7 separate regions of the Homo sapiens genome follow, and regions 2, 3, 4, 5, 6 and 7 are each linked to region 1. Evidence: promoter capture Hi-C in 16 types of primary human blood cells and fetal thymus (Javierre and others, 2016). All regions are on one chromosome and are shown on one strand. The core of a region is centred on a gene start or on the middle of the fragment in contact, and the rest is flanking DNA. Distances in the headings are between cores, read along the strand shown.

The links. The method cuts DNA at HindIII sites, captures the fragments that hold promoters and counts their contacts. A CHiCAGO score of 5 or more calls a contact.
Region 2: a fragment that was not itself captured here is called in contact with the fragment with the promoter of ZSCAN30 in region 1 in 3 of 17 cell types (naive CD8 T cells, total B cells and total CD4 T cells); the score reaches 6.6 in naive CD8 T cells.
Region 3: a fragment that was not itself captured here is called in contact with the fragment with the promoter of ZSCAN30 in region 1 in 1 of 17 cell types (activated CD4 T cells); the score reaches 5.0 in activated CD4 T cells.
Region 4: a contact is called between a fragment that was not itself captured here and the fragment with the promoter of ZSCAN30 in region 1, in 3 of 17 cell types (total B cells, activated CD4 T cells and total CD8 T cells). The highest score is 6.2, in total B cells.
Region 5: a contact is called between a fragment that was not itself captured here and the fragment with the promoter of ZSCAN30 in region 1, in 5 of 17 cell types (total B cells, erythroblasts, total CD8 T cells and 2 more). The highest score is 6.8, in total B cells.
Region 6: a fragment that was not itself captured here is called in contact with the fragment with the promoter of ZSCAN30 in region 1 in 8 of 17 cell types (activated CD4 T cells, fetal thymus, naive B cells and 5 more); the score reaches 7.3 in activated CD4 T cells.
Region 7: a contact is called between a fragment that was not itself captured here and the fragment with the promoter of ZSCAN30 in region 1, in 2 of 17 cell types (activated CD4 T cells and fetal thymus). The highest score is 5.7, in activated CD4 T cells.

What each region holds. Positions count from the first base shown.
Region 1 is chr18:35,288,760-35,291,501 of GRCh38, reverse strand. It overlaps ZSCAN30 (zinc finger and SCAN domain containing 30), which reads left to right and starts at 1,273. Exons shown (of 4, transcript NM_001112734.4): 1 at 1,273-1,418. It also overlaps the pseudogene ZNF271P. RefSeq lists an enhancer at 997-1,156. The HindIII fragment of the contact is 2,453 bases long and covers 377-2,742 here.
Region 2 is chr18:35,013,036-35,015,913 of GRCh38, reverse strand. It overlaps a transcript of MAPRE2 not described here. Among named protein-coding and RNA genes, the nearest start is that of MAPRE2, 27 kb to the left of the region's middle. The HindIII fragment of the contact is 7,024 bases long and covers 1-2,878 here.
Region 3 is chr18:34,872,365-34,875,243 of GRCh38, reverse strand. DTNA (dystrobrevin alpha) reads right to left here. Exons shown (of 23, transcript NM_001386795.1): 18 at 1-5. Among named protein-coding and RNA genes, the nearest start is that of DTNA-AS1, 110 kb to the right of the region's middle. The HindIII fragment of the contact is 7,635 bases long and covers 1-2,879 here.
Region 4 is chr18:35,583,055-35,586,015 of GRCh38, reverse strand. All of the region lies in intron 1 of GALNT1 (polypeptide N-acetylgalactosaminyltransferase 1), which reads right to left. Among named protein-coding and RNA genes, the nearest start is that of GALNT1, 2.8 kb to the right of the region's middle. The HindIII fragment of the contact is 2,443 bases long and covers 91-2,533 here.
Region 5 is chr18:35,616,668-35,619,367 of GRCh38, reverse strand. All of the region lies in intron 1 of GALNT1 (polypeptide N-acetylgalactosaminyltransferase 1), which reads right to left. Among named protein-coding and RNA genes, the nearest start is that of MIR3975, 26 kb to the right of the region's middle. The HindIII fragment of the contact is 489 bases long and covers 1,012-1,500 here.
Region 6 is chr18:34,994,126-34,996,825 of GRCh38, reverse strand. It overlaps a transcript of MAPRE2 not described here. Among named protein-coding and RNA genes, the nearest start is that of MAPRE2, 46 kb to the left of the region's middle. The HindIII fragment of the contact is 2,386 bases long and covers 224-2,609 here.
Region 7 is chr18:34,964,142-34,966,990 of GRCh38, reverse strand. No RefSeq gene overlaps it. Among named protein-coding and RNA genes, the nearest start is that of MAPRE2, 76 kb to the left of the region's middle. The HindIII fragment of the contact is 1,507 bases long and covers 726-2,232 here.

The sequences.
Region 1 (2,742 bases), core at 24-2,523:
ATGACCAAAACTGACAGATTAGCAATGAGGTCATTATACAGGGAAAAATGAATGACTTTGGGGTCTTAAAAAAGTGGAGAGAGCTGCATGAGAATTTGATCGCCAGATTTTGAAATAAAGTCATGTGACTATGCTTGGTACACTAAAGAGGTAATACTGCCTAACAGAGTTAAGGGGGATCATTTGAAGACACTAGCATAGAGTGACACCCCCTCATCCTCCCCACCCCGCCAAAGCCACTAAGAAAGATATAATACCCTGCCTCTCACCTGACAGAAGGTGGTGTTCCTGAGATTCATAATTGAACTGGATCTCCATGGGCTGCAACTGGACACCTCAGTGTGCAAGTGGAGAATTACCATTTCCTCTGTAAGCTTTTCTTGTCCACATAAAGGTCTGGGACCTGGAGGCAACTGGGCACCACTGGGCTTGGAAGGGAATCATTGTGCTGACTACAGATGTAATCTCTGAGACTAGACCACCAGAAAAATCCTCAAGATATAAAAGAAGGAGAAAACAAAAAATCTCATTTGACTTCCAGTTGCTTTTCTCTCAGAATGTATTAGGCTTCCTCCCCATCATCCAAGAGCCAGGGATTAACCCACTTAAGACACACATTCCCCATTCCAAGTCTAGAGATGTTCAAACAAAATTAGGGGTTAATGCTACCAAAAAAAGGTATAACTGGAAAGATAACGCAGAGAGGGGAATTTTACAGTGAATTCTAGTGGTTAACACTATGTTATTCGCTGCCCTTCCTATCCAAAAATGACACTACTGATCATTTTTCTTCCTTTTGCTTTTACAACATTCACAAATTCAGGTGGCTCTTTCCCAGTACGGTAGGCTGATTCGTATGGATGCACCACGGTTGGTGACTCCCCCCACCCCACAGAGTTTCTGGCGTTCATTCGGTTGAACCCAAGGCCAGCAAGGGCTGACTGGGAACAAACCGAACACTAGGCCGTGAACCAATCGTCTCTCCGTGCCCGGGAGCGACCCCGGGGGCCTTCACTCTCCAAGGACTCGAGAAACCATGCACAGTTTCCTGCTCGTTAGGCAAGATCACCCGGAACTCCTCTGCTATCCGCGAGCCGACATCACCCTTACCTCGACTTGGTCACCGGACCGCTGTGAAGCCTCACACCCGGCGAACCTGCCATCGCCCTGTCCGCTCTAGGAATCTGGGAGGAGTGCTCAGCTCTATGGCGCTTCACCGCGCAGGCGCAGGGCGGGGGTGGGGCACCGGGTGACGGAGGGCTGCCGAGAATTAACCCCCGAACCGCCGCGAGCTGTCCCTAGCAGTGCCTTAGCCAGGGACCTGCTTGGCCAGCGACAGATCCTTTGCTGCTCTGTCTGCCGGTTCTTGAGGTGAATGTCGGAATCCATTATCTTTCGGGAAAGCTCTCTGGGGCAGGGTAGGTTTTCTTACTACATACAAGTTCTTAATTAGTTATCGTTTTTTAAATAACCACCCCTCCCCCTATCGCTTATCTGATTCGTAGGTATGCTTTAATTCTAACTTTCTTCCTGTCCTCTCTGGTTTTTCACACCCCCAGAAGAGTAGCGCGCATCAGAATCACCTGGAGGCCTTGTTAAAATACTGACTTCTGCCCCACAACTCCGGAGTTGCTGATTTAGTAGTGGGGGAGGGGGCGGTGGCAGCCCAGGTTCTCAGGTGATCCTGAAGCTGTTGGTCCTGGGACCACATTTTGAGAACCACTGCCCAAGAAATAAGTGATGCTCAGTAATTAATCCCTGAATTAACGGAAAGTTGGATTTTTATCTACTTTGCAATCTAGAAAGGGTACGAGGTCTATTTAAGGTTTGCTTGCTAGAACAATTCTCACTGATCAGGGTGAGAAGGACCCGAAATGGAGGGTGCGGGGTAATCAGGGTAGGAAAGGATATTGCTGTGTTCATGGAAATATCTTGGGAAATGAGGAGTTGGGACCTCATTTCTGTTGAGACCAATGAGACGTGTGACTTGGTTTAAGCTGTCCGGTGGGGAAAGGAAGAGGTTTGAGAAAATGGTGGGTGGCTAAGTGGTAGTTGAGGTGGAGGAAGAGGGCTTCCTGTCCCAGCCCAAGTCCCTGTTGGGATATATGAAATTTAGGGATGTATGACTAAGCCCTTAATATAACCGTAAGAGGAAAGAGATGTGGGAACTTGAGTCCAACCCTCCCAAGTAGGGAGTGCAGATAGTTTTAAAAAAACAGCTTTCTTTTTGGCCAGGCGCAGCTTAGGCCTGTAATCCTAAAACTTTGGGAGGTTGAGGCAGGTGGATCACCTGAGATCAGGAGTTGGAGACCAGCCTGGCCAACAAGGTGAAACCCTGTCTCTACTACAAATACAAAAATTAGCTGGGCATGGTGGTGTGCGCCTTTAATCCCAGCTACTTGGGAGGCCGAGTCAGGAGAATCGCGTGAACCCATGAACCCAGGAGGCGGAGGTTGCAGTGAGCCGAGATTGCGCCACTGCACTCCAGCCTGGGTGACAAAGCGAGACTTTGTCTCAAAACAAAACAAAACAAAACAAAACAAAACAGCTTTATTGAGGTATAACTGACATAAACAGCAAATATTTAAAGGATATAATTTGATAAGGCTTGTTAAATGAATACAGCTGTGGAACTATCACTGCAATCAAAATAATATGTTTATTACATCTAAACCCCAAAAGTTTCCTCCTGCCCGTTGGTAAGCCTCTCTCCCAATGCCCCCTCCACTGGTCAGCTGTTAC
Region 2 (2,878 bases), core at 137-2,636, 280 kb after region 1:
ACCCAAGTGGCAGGATCAGTTATACCCAAAACGTCAGCATCGTGCAATATACCCAGGTAATAAAACTGCATGTGTACCCCAAGAATCTAAAATAAAAGTAGAAATGTAAAAAGTAGCATTTGATTTTAGTTAGTGTTTCTGCAATTTATTGGGGTTTGTTCTGAATTTTTGTTCATGATCTGACAACTGTAGAAAGGAAAAAATTCTTCCCAACCAGGGCTTAAAGGCAAAAATACACACACACACACACACACACACACACACACACACACACACACACTGCCATCCCTATACACACCCACCAACTGTGTAAAATTATGTGAATGAGGACTAGAAGGAAAATAAAACGTGATTCGTTAGGGTAGATAACAAATTTGCATTCACACCCGCTTGGGTCCTAATCTTGGCTCTACCACTTACTAACTATATGCCTTGAACAAGTCAGTAACCTCTCTGAAACAATTTCCTCATTTGTAAAAAGCAACAACGAAGTTTCATGTAGAACATATGAGGATAAGTTGCTAGCAGAGTATCTGGTACACCGTAGGCATCAAATAAAGTTTATTCTCCCACATGTTTTCCCCTATATACAGGGGTCTGGTGTTCAGGTATTACACAGTTTAGGAAATGAAGGTGAATCCACTTTGGCTTGGTGGACTGTTTACAGGTCTTGCTCCTTCCCCTGTACTCAACCTCACCAGGACCAGAATCCCTAGGCTATCACCAACTTGTTGATGGCAGGACTTGTTATTCTTAGTGACTCTCTGGCCAGGAAAGTAAAGTCAGAAAGTGAAGGGGGGTAGAGGAAACACATTTCTTGTTTAGGGGTCTGAATATATACAAGCATTCTAGGCATTGGCCTGTGAGACAGCAGTAGCATTCTTTCCATATACCACAGCCTACTTGTACAGAAAATTTTGATAAGACATGTCAACCTCAGAGTAATTTTAGTGACATTTTGGCTAGCAAAAATGACTGTTACTTAACTAGATCCTGGTACTCCATGCAAAAGGCAAAAATCTATGGCAATGCCATGGATTTACAACGTGGTAAAGGTGCACTAAGCATAGTGTAGATGTATTTGTATATGCAACACAGTGCTTGTCCCTGGGGCCACAGTACCCTTAAAAGGGAATACAAGTTTGTGAGGGGGGATGTAACACCATCAAACTGCTCAGTAAGTTGTTCTAAGTTTCACTCTGATCAATGATCAATTGATAATTAAGGTTGGTCCCCAATAATCTCTGTAGTCAACAGAGGGCCCTGGAGAGTTAGTTACAATCTCTGTACCAATAACAAACTCATTATAAACCAAACAATTTGCAACTCTTAACCCAGTCATTTGGCTCTTACAACATTGTAAAGAGAAAGAAATAAAGCATTAGTCCATTTAAAAATAAATGTGTCACCCTCATGATCAATTTTCACGTTTCCCCAAAGAAGAGCTTTTATACAATTTTTATCTGCCAGGTATATATGCCTTATATAGACTGCCGAGACCTGCTGGGACCAAAAAAAAAAAAAAAATCACCCTGCCCGGGAGACTAGCACAACTGTAAACTGATGGCCTCCAAACCCAGTGGATCTCAATGCTTCTAAATCACCCTTCTGTTTCCCTAGTTTGGGTTCCGTCATTATTCATAAACCAGATGTTTCAATACTTTTTCCGTGTCCTTATATCTCCGACCCTACCACCTTCTCTTCCCTTAGCAGATGGCCTTGCATCTGACTTTATAGAAGGTATTGAAGCCATTAGACCAGAATTTAACTTTTCTGTCCCCAAACCTACATATTTACCTAAAGGATTGCCATCTTATTCGGATTCTTGCTTGTTGCAATAAAGGGCTATGGTCTCCCCTCTTGCCTCCTGCCTTTTCAAAGCCCTGGTATATTTAAATCAGAAAGTAAATCATTATGTCAAAGAGACATCTGTACCCCCATGTTTATTGTGGCATTGTTTACAATAGTCAAGATATTAAATCAAACTAGGTGTCCAATAACAGATGAATGAATAAAGAAAATGTAGTATATACACACAATGCCATGAAAAAGAACAAAATCTGGTCTTTCACAGCAACATGGATGGAACTGGAGGTCATTATATTAAGTGAGATAAGCCAGGAGCAGAAAGTTGAACACTGCATATTCTCACTAATACGTGAAAGCTATTACTAAACAAAAGTTGATTTCATAGAAGTAAAAAGTAGAAGACAGGATACTAGAGGCTGGGAAGGGTTGGGGGAAGGAAAGGATAGGGAGAGATTTGTTAAAGGATACAAAATTACAGCTAGACAGGAGGGATAGGTTCTAGTGTTCTATACCATTGTAGGTTGACTATTGTTGACAATAACATATAGTTTCAAATAGCTAGAATGAAAATATTAAATGTTCCTAACAGAAAGAAATTATAAATATTTTACATGATGGATATGCTAAGTACCCTGATATAATTACTTACATTATACATATCAAAACATCACTATGTACCCCATGAATATGTACAAGAACTATTTGTCAATTAACAAAATTAAAAAGCTCTAGTTTGTAACTTTCTACCAGTTTCTCCTATGCCTTGTCCACTGGCTGCCTCCAGGCAGTGTTTAAATCACTCAGGTCTCTTCTACCTTAAATCAACTCTTCTTCCCCACAGGTCCTGCTTTCTGTCTCCATCTTTATAGTCAGTATCTTAAGGGTTATCTAAACCTGCCCTTTCCACTTCTCAATTTCTCCCTTCCTCCTCAACTTCTTGCATCTGGCTCCCATTCTGAACATGACATTGAAATTATTCTCACCAAGATCACTAACAACCTCTTTGTTGCTAAAGCAATAGGCATTTTTAGTGTTTATTATTTTATATAACCTTTATGGGCATGTGGAT
Region 3 (2,879 bases), core at 131-2,630, 420 kb after region 1:
TGAGTCTGGAGAGACAATGCAGGTCATTAATTTGCTTTCCCAAGAAAATGTCATATGTCATCCCCAATGCCTCAGTTGATTGTTGAAAACAGTGACAATGAAATTTCAAAGCAGGAGGAAATCCTAGGTAATTGTGTTGGTAATCCTAAAGCTAATTTGCAGGTGCAGATAATTTAGGACCTTATTGTATGTAATCTGAAGTTTGGGTTAAATATTGAAAGCTAAAACTATTAGTACAGCATTGCTCTACAGTATATGGGACATGTGCCCATAAAATGAAGGTACTGTTAAATGCAGATAATTACAAGGTGTGGATACTTTCTCCTTGAAGGAAGGTCTCCGAGGACTAAGAAGACATTAAGGAGAAAGTTTAAAATACAAACTAGAAGACTATTTGCAATGGATGCTTTCTGAATTTTCAACCTGACTGTACTAGCATTATCTTTAGAGGATAAGAGTTTAAATCATGTCATACAATATTGTGCATATTAAGTCTCAAATTAAGAATCAAATGAAGTGTAAATTGTTTTATCCCTATTTTATAGTAAAAGCTGATTTTGTCAAATTAGTAACTCAGGGATTCCAATGGGGAAGAAGAAGAAGAAGAAACCTTGTTTTCTAATTTTTTGGTATTATTTCCTGCAGGAAATGTCCTTCTCTTCTCCTATGAAAAAGCAGTATTCTAGCAGGACAATAAGAATAGTAGGATTTAAAGACAAGTAAAGAAAAAAGTAGAAAACAACTGAAGGAACTTATCTTTGCACTACAGTTTTTGGCATGAAACTATTCTGAGACTGTCACACTTTGAATCTTAAGGATTTGTCTCTAAATGAGGTGCCTTGGAAATATTCTCCCTGTTTTAATAATTAGTTGACAAAAGAAGTCAGCCACATGCGTAAGAAAATGCAAGGAGACCCTTGAGTGCATACACAACAGATTAGGTGTTCACATCAATTCCATCCCAGTCTGTTTGCTGTGGTTGCTAGAGTGAGAATTCTTCTCCAGCAAGGCCCAGAGAGTCATCATTAACCCATTCAAACTCCTAGATGTATACCACCAGAGCAATGCTCTGGAATATTCCATTTAGATATTTGCTTTGGGCTCAGTGGCTTGTGGTTAAAACACACCACATCAATCCTGAAAAATGCCATGCTGTTAGCTCTCCAGGCTCAGCATCACGCATAATTGTTAAAGCCATAAACTGAGAAAAACCCAGAATTAAAAATGAAGCAAAACAGAACAGAGCACAGAAAATAACCCATGGGGTGCCCAATGGGCTGAGGGTCCCATTCTTTCACTCTCAACAGTACCTTGTAATGGTCTGTCCAGGCCCAAGGAAGAGAACTTTGCCCGGTTGTGATGTTTTTGCAGCCTGCTTCCCTCGGCCTGCTCAAGGAGGGGTCTAGTTTTCCCCAGCAAACTCTGGCAGCTCAGCCCCATTACCTTGAAACCTTCTGCTTCTGAGCTACCACTGCATCCTTGACCTTCCCATGCCAATAATAAATAATTTCACATTTGCGTTGTGCCTTATGATGTTCAAAGGGTTTTCACATACACTCTCACTGATTTCTCTCCATGACCCTGGGAAGTATGCATTCTTACTCTAAATGTGAAGTTGTGGAGCCCAGTACTCAGAGAGGTGAAAATAATTGCTTTATCTGGAGACGGAGTCAGAGGGGCAGGGCTGGGGCTGAGCCCAGGGGCTCTGAGTGCCCTGGGCTGCGGGAGCCTTGCTGGCCATGGCTGGCAAAAAGTCCCTCAATGGAGACAGACGCTGGTCAGATGCCCTGAGCTCTTCCTACTTTGGCAATTCCTCTTGTACACCCTTTTTAAGGCAGAGGCCTTAGCAAGGCTCCTGAGCCTCTTGTCTCTGTCCTCTTTATCAAGGGACCAAACACAGCCGGGAGTGGGGACTAGAGAAGGGAAGTTGGACAGAGTGGTTATTAAGAAGTAGGATTCTCTTGGCTATCAGTGTGGGTTACCGTCTCATCCCTGGGAACTCAGATTGTCTTCCATGGTGAGAAGTTCACAATAATAATATAACTCCACTTTTGTAAGTAATTCAATGTACAAAGCACTTTTACATACACTGTTTTGTTTCATTTTCCTAGTACAGTGGTACAAGTGGTAATATCTTATATTTGAATAGCAATTTGCAGTCCATAAAGCACTTTAACCCCTAATACTTCATGTAATCCTCTTAATAACCATATGAAGTATTATTATTCCCATTTTATATATTAGCAAACTGAGGCTAAGAGGAGATAACTGGATTACCCAAGGTTTCTGAGCAAGAGAATGGCAGAGATAAAATTGATCCCCAGTCTTTAGACTCCAAGCTCAGGGTTTGCCATGCTGAGTCTAAGGACTGTGGGCACTGTGACCAGCCATCATACGCTTCCATCTATGCTTCACTACTATAGAAAGGTTCAGCAGCCTGAAGAGGGAAAAGACACAGGGCACAGACCCAGTAGGACCACCTTGTGGTGCTGGAGCAGCGTCCTAGGGCTTCCTGCTACTGGGCCAGGCAATACCTTTTAGTTGCTGGATCATGGAAAAGATGTATGGGTGCTCAGGGTGATGGGAGGGCCTTGGACTGTTTATCAATTGGTACAGAAGTACAGGCCTACAATCTCTTATTTGCAATTCTGAAAGCCAAAAAAGCTCTGACAAACACTGGTCATTCCATAATGAATTTGGTCTTAATGGATGTGAGGTAACTGATACGATATCTGCATCATATTGCTTTTCAAAATCAGATAAATGCCAAATTCTGGAACATATCTGGATCTAGTGATTTGAGATATGGGGCTATGGACCATATTTCACTACTTTAATGTCTGTTCTGGGGCTGTAGTGCACACCAGCCTTGCTTATAC
Region 4 (2,961 bases), core at 63-2,562, 290 kb before region 1:
AACTGCCACACAACCCAGTAAGTGTACTCCTGGGCATATATCCCAGAGAAATAAAGACTCTGTTCACACAAAAACCTATACACAAAAGCTTACAGCAGCTTTATTCACAATAGCCAAAAACTAGAAACAACCAGATGTTCAACAGGTAAATGGTTAAAAGATCCGTAAAAGTACATTCATACTATGGAATATTACTTAGCAATGAAAAGGGAGTAATTACTGATACATGCAACAACCTGGATCAATCTCCAGAGAATTATGCTGAGTGAATAAAGCCAATTCCAAAAGACACTTATCCCATTTATAAAACATTCTTAAAATGGCAAAATTACAGAAATGAACAAATTAGTAATTGTCAGAGTTTAAGGAGGGGGTGGAGGTAGAAGGGTAGTAGGTGTGGCTACAAAAAAACATAAGGAAATCTTGTGGCCATGAAAATTTTCTCTATCTTGACTGTTTCAATGTGACTATTACAGGTCTGGAAATTGTACTATAGCTTTACAAAATGATACCATTGGAAGCAACCAGGTAACTGAGGACTAAATGAGGACACACAGATATAAATGTAAACTGTTATCCCTACCCTTAAACACCATACACTCAAGAGGCATAAATCAACAGTGAATAACTTCATCAAGGAGAAAGACCTTGAGCAAATCTATGAAAAACAGGTAGCACTTCCACAAGTGGAGGTGGAGAAGGGGACATCTTGGGAAGGAGAAGAAATCACATAAAAAGGTACAGAGCCAGAAATAAGCAAAGTGCCTATGAAGAAAGAGGCATGTGTCGGGGGTTGTGAAATAACATAAAAATGGGATAAGAAATGTGGAGGGTAACTCTGAAGGGTCCCCAAAAGTCAGGTGCAGGAGTTTAAATGTTACATACCCAGAGAAGCCGTCCTCCCCAACCCAGCCAACCTGAAGTTCCCCCACCTACAATCTCTCCAGCATCCTTTACTGCTAATGTGTAGCAATAATCACAAATTGTATTTATGTACTTATTTGCATGTTTATTTAATGCTATCCACCCCCAGTTATCTTGAGACTACAGCACTGGGTGTGGCACACATTAATCGCTCCATACAGGGGTCCCCAACCCCCAAGCCATGAACCAGTACCAGTCTGTGGCCTGTTAGAAACCTGGCCACACAGCAGGAGGTGAGCAGTGGGCAAGCGAGCATTACTGCCTGAGCTCCACCTCCTTCCGGTCAGATCACCAGCGGCATTAAATTCTCATAGGGCAAACACTACTGTGAATTTTACATATGAGGGATCTAGGTTGCACAAGACTTATGAGAATCTAATGCCTGATGATCTGAGGTGTAACGGTTTCATCCCGAAACCATTCCCCTGGCCCCCAACCTGGTCCACGGAAAAACTGTCTTCCACAAAACTGGTCCCTGGTGCCAGAGAGACTGGGACTGCTGAGTCAATAAATATTAATTGAATAAATGAACAAACAGTAAGTAGTCACTCCTAACTCTCTTCTACGAAGTTGCCGCACTCCTCTTCCTCCATTATCTGTCACTCCCTTTGCCTTGGTCCCTCTTTGCCTAACTGCCTCTTTTAACTGATCTCTCCTCTTTCCTTCCTCCTCTACCTCAGCCCAGCTCTTAACCCATCAAAAAATAAAACTTGGTATATAACTGCAATGGTATAACACTCTTCTGCATCTCAACCAATTAGGAACTGTATCCAAGAAATCTGTTACTGAAAAAAAAGTACCAAAGTTGTATGTTACATAAGCATGACAGATGTATTACATAAATAAATAAGTAAAAGCAGAAACAGCGTCAACCTGATTGTGACCTTTCATGAGAATGAGTATGGAAAGCTGTCCATCAAAGAAAGCCAGGACAGTATTCCTCAAAACTACCAAAGTTATGGAAAACCAGACAAGACAGAAACTATCACAAACCAAATATTAAAGAAACATGATGTCAAAATACAATGTAGTACACTGGACTGGATTCTGGAACAGAAAGAAGATATTAACGGAAAAACTGGTGAAATCCAAATAATGTCTGGAATTTAGCTACCTAAAAAAATACAAAATTTTTTAAAAACTATATGAAGCACTAATGTGTGATTCAGATTCAAAATTATTATTATATTAGTTAAAAGAGGGATAGGGCATGCAAGTGAGCCAGGAGCAAAACTCCAGTCAGAGTAGCTGGAGCGTCCCACTGAAAGTTACAAACAGATCTATCTTCATTTTGACTCTGGTCCCATGCTCTCTCACCTGATGTCATGAGAATTACCTTGCCTGTAACTGCTTGGGATTAACAATCAGTTTTGTTGTTGTTGGGTTTTCAGTTTTTTGAGACAGGGTCTCGCGCTGTCACTCTGGAATAGCTAGGACTACAGACGCATGCCACCACACCCAGCTAACAACCACGCTTAAGTATCCTAGCACACTCATTCGTTTATCCAACAAGCATTTATACCAAGTGCTTATTGCTTACCAGGCACTGTAAAGTCTTCAGTGATACATGGCTGGAAAAGGAAGCCACAATCTCTGCTCTCATAAAGCTTAAACTCTATTGAGAAAGCCAGGCATTTAACAAGTATTTGCATAAATGGTGAGTGCTCCCAAGAGTTTTGCAGTCTGCTGCTTAAGAGGCACCAAACAAACCAGCAGAGCAGTCATTAAACGCAGTTATCACCAGCACGCTGAACAAAGGCTTCTCAGGTTTCAAAGTGCACACAAATAACTTGAAATCCTGGTAAAGCAGATACTGATTCAGTTGATGTGCAGCGGGGCTTCACATTCTGCATTACTTGAGTCTGAGGTGACAGGGATGCTGCTGGTACACCATCCACACTTGGAATAGCAGGACTCGGAGTACCATGGAAACATCCTCAAAGGATCATGTAAAATGTCAATTCCAATAGGGCAAGGACATTGTGTCTCCCTTATTCACCATGTACCCAGAACTTAAAACTGTGCCTCATAGACAGA
Region 5 (2,700 bases), core at 7-2,506, 330 kb before region 1:
TAATACACTGTCTGATGTTACTAGGTTACTAACTTAAGCGACCTTTTGAGATCTAAAAAGTTTTCAGATTTGCTCAACAGAACAAATAAAAACCAAAACTTGAGTTAGGGGTAGATTTTAGATTTTTGGCCCTAATAATAGCCTGAAATATTTAGTTACCATTGAAAAAACAAAACAAAACATATATTAGCATGTTACAGAAAGACAGTGTTCTGGTTAGTCACAAATTCTACCTTACAGATTTATCGCAGGTACCACACACTGCAAAACAACCATACCCTTCCTTTTTTCCTTAACTAATCAGTAATTTGGCATATCGGTTTTTAAGTTGCTGTGTTTTCTAACTTGGTTTCTCTCTTACTAGTCTCTCCCTAATGTCATTTAACGTCTCTTAGTTTATAGCGTTAGTGATTGTTTTGCATTCTTGCCTGCTGATTTTCCTGTGAAAAGCTATTCTCTGCCTCCCTCCCTCAACTCGGTCTGCCCTGTAGTCTCAGGCTGCTTCTGCATTGCTATCAGTTAAGATCCATTCTAGGGGATGACCTCAAGCGCCTTTTCTTCATATTTGTTTCAGCTCTTTGGAGGGCTGATTATAGGATTTGCTTCCTGCTCTCAGAACAAACAAACAAACAAAAACAGTGCAGTACAATTAAGTTGACATTTTACTTAACAATGTAATAGGAAAGTTAAGTAAATTGTTGGAAAAAAAAAACTCTGAAATAAACCTGCTATTTAATTCACATCAATAACTCAAACATTTCTTTTGTATTATTTTTTAAAATTCTAATTCTCAAAACTATTCTACTAAAACCTCTAATCACTTGGGTTATCTCTCCTTTTCTTTTAAATACACTAAACAGTTACACATGTTTGTCTTTATTACCCATAATGCAACTAAAAGATAAATTTTTTGCAGATGTCATTTCTCCACTTGAGCTTTAGAGAATTTAAGAATTAAGTTCATCCATGAGCAGTCTTTTTCAAACACACATTACAGTCTAGTCTCAAGCTTCCTTCTTGAGACCCTAACCATAAATTCAAGAGGAATAACTAAAATTTTTTAAAGATGTATTTAAACTAAACATACCAAAGAATATATACTTTTTAATGAATACAAGATTATTTTACAGGTTTAGACTACATTTAATGTAAATAATGTTAATTATGAATGAAAATGATGTAAAATTATTTTCCTAATGGTACTGCACATAATGCTATCTCATTGCACAAGAAAAATCAGAGCAGTTAACAGTTTTGCATTTTGCTGTGCTGTTAACTGCAGTAGTGCTCTCTATACATGTTAAGTGCTTGGCTATCAAAAAAAAAAAAAAAGAACAGCAAAGCAGTCTTAAAAGATGAAACCTTTATCTGCTAGAGCAAAGTTTATGGTTTCATTATAAAGAACCCTAATCTGAAGAGTTATCGAAAAGAAAAGAAGAAGAGAAAGGGAGAGAAATAATTTTTAAAATAGGTATTGTTTTTATTTTTTTAAGGAAAGCTTTTTTAAAAAAACTAAATGTGCTATGTTGATCTTGTTTTGAGTTTTGAATCTACAAATCAACTTAAAAAGACACTTTAGGGACCACTGAGGAAATATGATTATGAACTGGGTTACAGATGCTACTAAGCAATCACTGTTAATTAGGAATGTTAACAGCATTGTGGTCATATTCAAAATGTTCTCATTTTAAAGGATCTATACTGAAGAATGTTAGAGGTAAAATGACATGATGTCTTCCATTGCTTTAAAATACTTGGGCTTAAGAGCAGGGGAGTGAGGTTAGATTGAGAGGTGGAACACAAGTGGGAAAATGTGTTTGCTGAATCTGGAGAATGGATACAGGTTTAAGAGGGCTCGTTTCACTGTTCTGTCTACTTTTATATATGTTAGAATTTCTCGAAATATGATGTTAAAACAAAGAAGTAACTTTTAAACGTGTTTCAGATAGCTAAACGCTAAATTAGGATTTAACATCTTACTTTGGATTTAACATCTTACTTTGGCAGGCCAAATACTGCATACACTGGTGTTCTGTGAACAAAAGCAAGGCATATAGTAGACATTTGTTCACTTAACAAATTTGTTAACTGCCCTACTATATGCCAAGCATTTTACCAGACCATATGAGAACAAAGATGAGTTAGACAACATCACTGTCCTTAGGGAGGAAATGGTCAATATAAATACCTGTAATAAATGATTCTTGGTGGTGTGAGAGAAGAGTCTAGAGAACAGTAGCCACAGACAGGAAATGGAGGGGGGAGCTGTCTGAATGCCTGCAATGCGCCGCTTGCATTACATTCACCCGTCACTGCTGCTCAAATGGGGAAGGAACTACTCATAAAGTTTTGTTTGTTTTCATACCACACCTCACTCTGGCATAAATGAGTCAGGATCTATGGTTACAGGGTTCCTCAGTGGCTTAGGCATTAGAGAGAGAATTTTATCCTAATAACAACCCTTTCAAGTGGGTTTTATCTTCATTTTCAGCTGAGGAAGCTGAAGAGTCAGAAGTTTGAGGGGTGGACCATACTAGAGGACTGGAAGGTCTGAGAAGTCACAGAATTTGAAGAGTGGTGCCAATACAAAGGAGGAGAGAGCTCTGAAAAAGGAGTCTGAGACGATGCTAACTGCCACAGAGAAAGATTACGTGACACTGGAAGCTGTTTCTGCCAAGTATTCAGCAAGCTACCATGAAT
Region 6 (2,700 bases), core at 167-2,666, 290 kb after region 1:
TTAAATTCAATTTCATATATTTGAAGCAACAGGGCACCACATTTCAGACCTCTGAAGACTTCGTATACAAGGTTTCTATTCTTTCATTTGTTCAACATATTAGCCACTTATGAGTAGCTACAGTACATCAGGGGCTCTGGTGCATCAGCTCATTTACTCCTCCCAATAACCCTATAAGAGGTGTTATTCTTTATCCCATCTCATAGATGTATGAACTGAAGCTTCCAACCCATGTTTGTTGTACTTTGAAGCTGGGACTCTTGAGTACCACCATACACACCTATTAGATTCCAGGTACCATGTTGGGTGCTGGGATTCTAAGGGTGAACAAGACACAGAACAGCCACCCAGGACTTAAGTCTAGTTGGGTAACCACTTAAGCTCTGCCTCCTGTCAGATCAGCTGCAGCATTAGATTCTCATAGGAGTGCGAACACTATTGTGAACCGTGCACATGAGGGATCTAGGTTGCCCGCTGCTTATGAAAATCTAATGCTTGATGATCTGAGGTGGAACAGTTTCATCCCGAAACCATCCCTCATCCTCCACCCTACCCCCAGTCTATGGAAAAATTGTCTTCCACAAAACTGGTCCCTGGTGCCAAAAAGGTTTAGGACCGCCGAGGTAATAAACACAAAATAATCATATCACAGGGCTGTGAAGGCAATGATATTGACAGCAGGGGTGGAAAAATTCCTGACTGCTGTTTTCTTGGGGAGCATATAGAGTTTGAAGATCATTTGTTTTTCTCATTCTGAAAATTAGAGGAAAACAAGCATTTTAACTATCAGGTTCATCTGTGACAGCGCTTTCCTGACTTTATGAATCACCTGGGAATTTTGTTACAATGCAGGTTATGATTCAGTACGTCTAGCCGTTGAGGGGTGTGAGAATCCGCCTTTCTAAAATCTTCTAGGTGATGCTGCTGGTCTAAAGACCACACCTTGAGTTGCAAGGCACACACACACACTCTCTGTGCTTCAGGCTCTTTCTAGAATCTGCTATGGTGACAGATTAACATGCGCTTGGTAAAGGAGCCATTCACTCACATGATCCCAACTGAGATAAACTAATGTATAGCTTAGACCTTACTACCAAACAATGGACACAAACATATAGCTTAGACCTTACCCCCAAGCAAGCAAAACTAAGGATGTGAAGTCCATCCTTGGTGCACACCACTTTTTTCTTGCTCCTCCTTCCTGCAATTATTCCTAGCCCCCAGTGGTAACATACTCACCCAGAGTTCCAGGTTCTTAGGGAAGTTCTCCCCTTTTGAAGATGATATGTATTTAATTGATTAACTAGTTTGTGCAAATGCATTAGAGAGTGTTTTAACAAAAATTTGTTATTTTTTCCTCTGCTGACTCAAATGGCTGTCTCTGGATCTTGTTACATGAGCACCCTCAGTGAAGCCACTGTTATTTTCTTGTGTAGGCAATTGGATCAGATGAAGCTGCCACACATATATCCAGTGTGCTTGAGAGATAGGAAGATGCTTGGAAGTCCTGCCAAATTCTGTGACTAGCAAACAATGAGCTAAAAAACTTAAAAACTGCATTACTTGATTCCACAACTGTATACCATACTGGGACCATTATTCTGCCTAAAAGTGTCAGGCTCAAAATGAATTTGAGATTGCCCATACTTTATAATAACATTCCTCTCTTGGTGCACTTGCATTTTCAAACTGAGGGAAAAGAAGCGCCCACTGATGCTAGAATATCAGGAGTCCTCACCTACAGGGAGATGTGTCCAGAAAATGTATTTACCTAAGTTTTTAAAACCCAATGCATGTTTCTATGGAAATATGAGTTGGTTAGAGGTTAACATACTGGTATAAGTTAATACTTTTATGGGTTAAAGGGATCTTTGAGGGCTACCCTGAGAATTCAACTATCATTTGTAAAGCTGCCTGGTATAAAGAGCATTGGGACTTGGGGTATCATCCCCTGGGTTTGAGGTTTTCCCAATTATGTGACTTTGGGCATGCCACTTAAACTCTGGGACCCAGTTTTTACAGTTTTCTGTAAAGTACAGCTCCTTAAAGAGCTGCTGTTACATATAAAAATTCTTTAGCAACTATAAATTTCTATGTACATGGAAAATACTTATTAAATTTATCATTATTATTATTGAATTTGAAAATATCTCCTGATTATAGGGATATAAAATATTACAATAGAATTAAATCTAGGGAAAACTAACAGCTTAAACAGAATGGGAGGGAATACCTATCTTCAGGGATCATGTGGATGCGGCCTCGATGAAAAGGGCCCCAAGAAATCCTTGGAACAGGACCTTCTCTGGCCTTTCTGGCCCTGCCAAGGCCTTTTTTGCTGCCTCTTCTGTAATACATGACCTTGGCAGCCCCAGTTTGACCATCATTTCTCTAAGGTTGGCAGCCTAGGAAAAGAAAAAAAAAAGCAAAAAACAGAAGCCAAAAAACAAAACTATTTTTTGACCACAACTGAGACTTCTTCTGTTAGCTTAATGTTGAATAGTGCTCATAAGATTGTTGTACAGATTACGTGTTTTGTAGCTATCACTTCATCTAACAAGTGCTTAATATCTTTATTTCCTTCAAATTTTTTGGAGCCTAGAGAAGCTTGTTTTTCTTCTTTCTTGCCCCTCCCCATCCCACATGGTTTCCTTTTTCATTCCCCATGGGGACAGCAAATGTCTCCCCATCCTCCCAGTT
Region 7 (2,849 bases), core at 230-2,729, 320 kb after region 1:
GAGAATTGAGTTAAATTGTAGGACATCCAGTTGGAGTCTGCTGGAGAATTGCTTGGTGTGTGGAGAAGCCCACTCCCCAACATTTTGGTAACCAAAATTGTGAGAGAGTCAACTTTGTAAGAGAAGAGAAAGTGTTTGCTTTTCCCTTATACTTACTAAGCACTTGCAGATAATTTACCAGTATAATTTCAGGCTTCATACAATTTTATTTCTAATATTTATCTCATAAATATGGTTTTATGCCAAATATATATTTATTTAAATTTGGAATTTTCTTATGTTTTGTGGCATTTTATTATTTAAAATTTCCAGCACTTATGCTGTGATTTCCTTATAAAATTGGAATTTATTTTAGTGTAGGAATGTCTCTTTCTCCACTAGAATATGGGGCCCAAGATGACAAGAATTTTTGTCTTTTAGTTTACTGGTCTGTCTCCAGGGCGTAGAACTGTGTCTGAGATATGACAGATGATAATTAAATACTTTTGAATGAACAAATGAATACATAAATAAATAAAAGAATAGATTCATAAATATATCCTGATTTGAATTTTTTTCCTGTTGTTTTAATCCAAATCATCTTTACCACGTTGTATTATTTCTCCGTAATTTAGTGACTCTGTTTTTTAGAAACACTATGTAACATAAATTTATTGTAAGATAGTAACTTTCACACATTCAAGTTTCAGTCATTCAGCATGTAGGAGAAAATGTCCTTCTAAGCTTCTTTTAGCTAACAGACATCCTGAAGACAATAAACATCTTATATGAGTCTCCAAACAAGAGGTAGGAAAGTTAAGATTAGTCTGAAAAGTAAAATGCATCATTCGTAAGAAAGAGTTTTCTTTAGAATATGGAAAATAAGATTTAAAAGGAAGGCATAAAATGCAGTACATAACAATAATAGAACAAGAGACATTAAAATGAATTTCTTAAAGGCAATGAATATCTGTACCGGTGAAGTGCTAATCATACGCTACATTTCAAGGCGTTGCTAAGATAGCATTTAACCACATCCACAAATTAATTCTTGCCATTAGAGTATTAACATTTCACAAAATGTTTTTCTCCCGTCTAAATTCTGGGAAGAGCAACTGGGAAAAAAGCCACTTAATTGTCTCAGAGAAATCTAGCTGCTGTGAGCTGTATGTTGGCTCTGGGGATATGGATCAGGATTTCTGTAAATGAGGATAATGGATAGAGAACAATATCTGCAGTGATGGGAGAGTTGGGCCCTGAAACTCCCAAATCAACTGTGCTTTGGAGGAACACTCACATGCTACCATGTGTTTCCTTTGTTCTCCAAGAACATCCATTCTGTTCATCACTCACAAGCACACATTTAGTTTTGTCTCATAACTGGGAGTATGAGTAAATATAGAATACAAAATATGTTCTTACTGAGATACCAAACAGGTATATTCATAACTCCTCCTTTCCTTTTATTTTCTTTGTTGATTTTCTTTCTTACAAGAATCTTACAAGATTAAACAAATTTTAGACAAGTCACAAACATTACTATGTTAGTTTAATACAAATGCATGTTTATAATAGCAATGACAACATAGGAACAGGGATCAGGAGTCCATGTCACTGCCACAGAAACCTTTATGATGGTTGCAGATCTTTGTGATTATCTCCAGAACAGTGATATGTTTTGATGCCAGGTCAGACTCTGGCTAAAGGCCAAGTTAGCAACATGCTCTTTTATTCATAATGAGCTCTAGCTTGCATGAAGTGGAACCAAGTGCGACACTTTTGATCCTGGCTTCTAGAAACCTCAGATTCCAGAAACAGTGTCTGACTGGCTTTTTCAAATCAGGAGAGAGCACTGTGTAGTTAAAGAAAAAGAAATCATCAAAAAGCCCAGAAACAGTCAACTAGTTAAACAGATTGTAGTTCAGTTATGTGATGGATTATTTGGTAGCTGCTGAAAAAAATCAGCAGTTAAATATATTTAGGTATTTACGTTAAAGATACTTAGGGGCATGGAAAAATGATCACTTTAATATATTACGGGACAAAAACAAGATTCCAAGGTTTTGAATCTGATATATGCAGTGTGATGTCATTTGAGTAAAGTAAGTTCCCATATGTTTTCATACATGTAAAAGTAAGTAAATAGATAAAGTTGAATAAAACATTTTAAAATGGTGATATTCCTGATTATAGGGGATTTCTATTTTTTTCTTTTTATACTTTTCCCTTTTTTTTTTTTTTTTTACGGAAGCTTACTGTGTCTCCCAGGCTGGAGTGCAGTGTCACAATCTCACGATCTCGGCTTACCGCAACCCCCACCTCCTGGGTTCAAGCGATTCTCCTGCCTCAGCCTCCCGAGTAGCTGGGACTACAGGCACGCACCATCACGCCCAGATAATTTTTGTATTTTTGTAGAGACAGGGTTTTGCCATGTTGGCCAGGCTGGTCTCGAACTCCTGACCTCAGGTGATCCACCTGCCTTGGCCTCCCAAAGTTTTAGTAGACATTTTTATTGGCTTTTGTGTGTCAAAAATAAATCAGTCTCTCTCTTTGTATATGTAGTTGTGTGTATGTGTGTGTGTGTGTGTGTTTGGCCTGTGGTGCTGACGCCAAACAACTGGGCACCACTGCCTAGCCAAGTTGACTAGTAAAATTAACCATCACACTTTTCAAGCATTCATTTTTACATTCTTTTTTTTTAGTAATAAGAAAATTTTTCAGTTTTCCCTGTTCGGTCCCTATACATTTCATGTACATTTTCACTTTCCTAAAAACGGTTACAATTCAGGTGAACTGAGATGACTTAGATGACCTTAGCAGATGAATATTACAATTTTTACTTAGAGGCCGGGTGCAGTGGCTCACGCCTG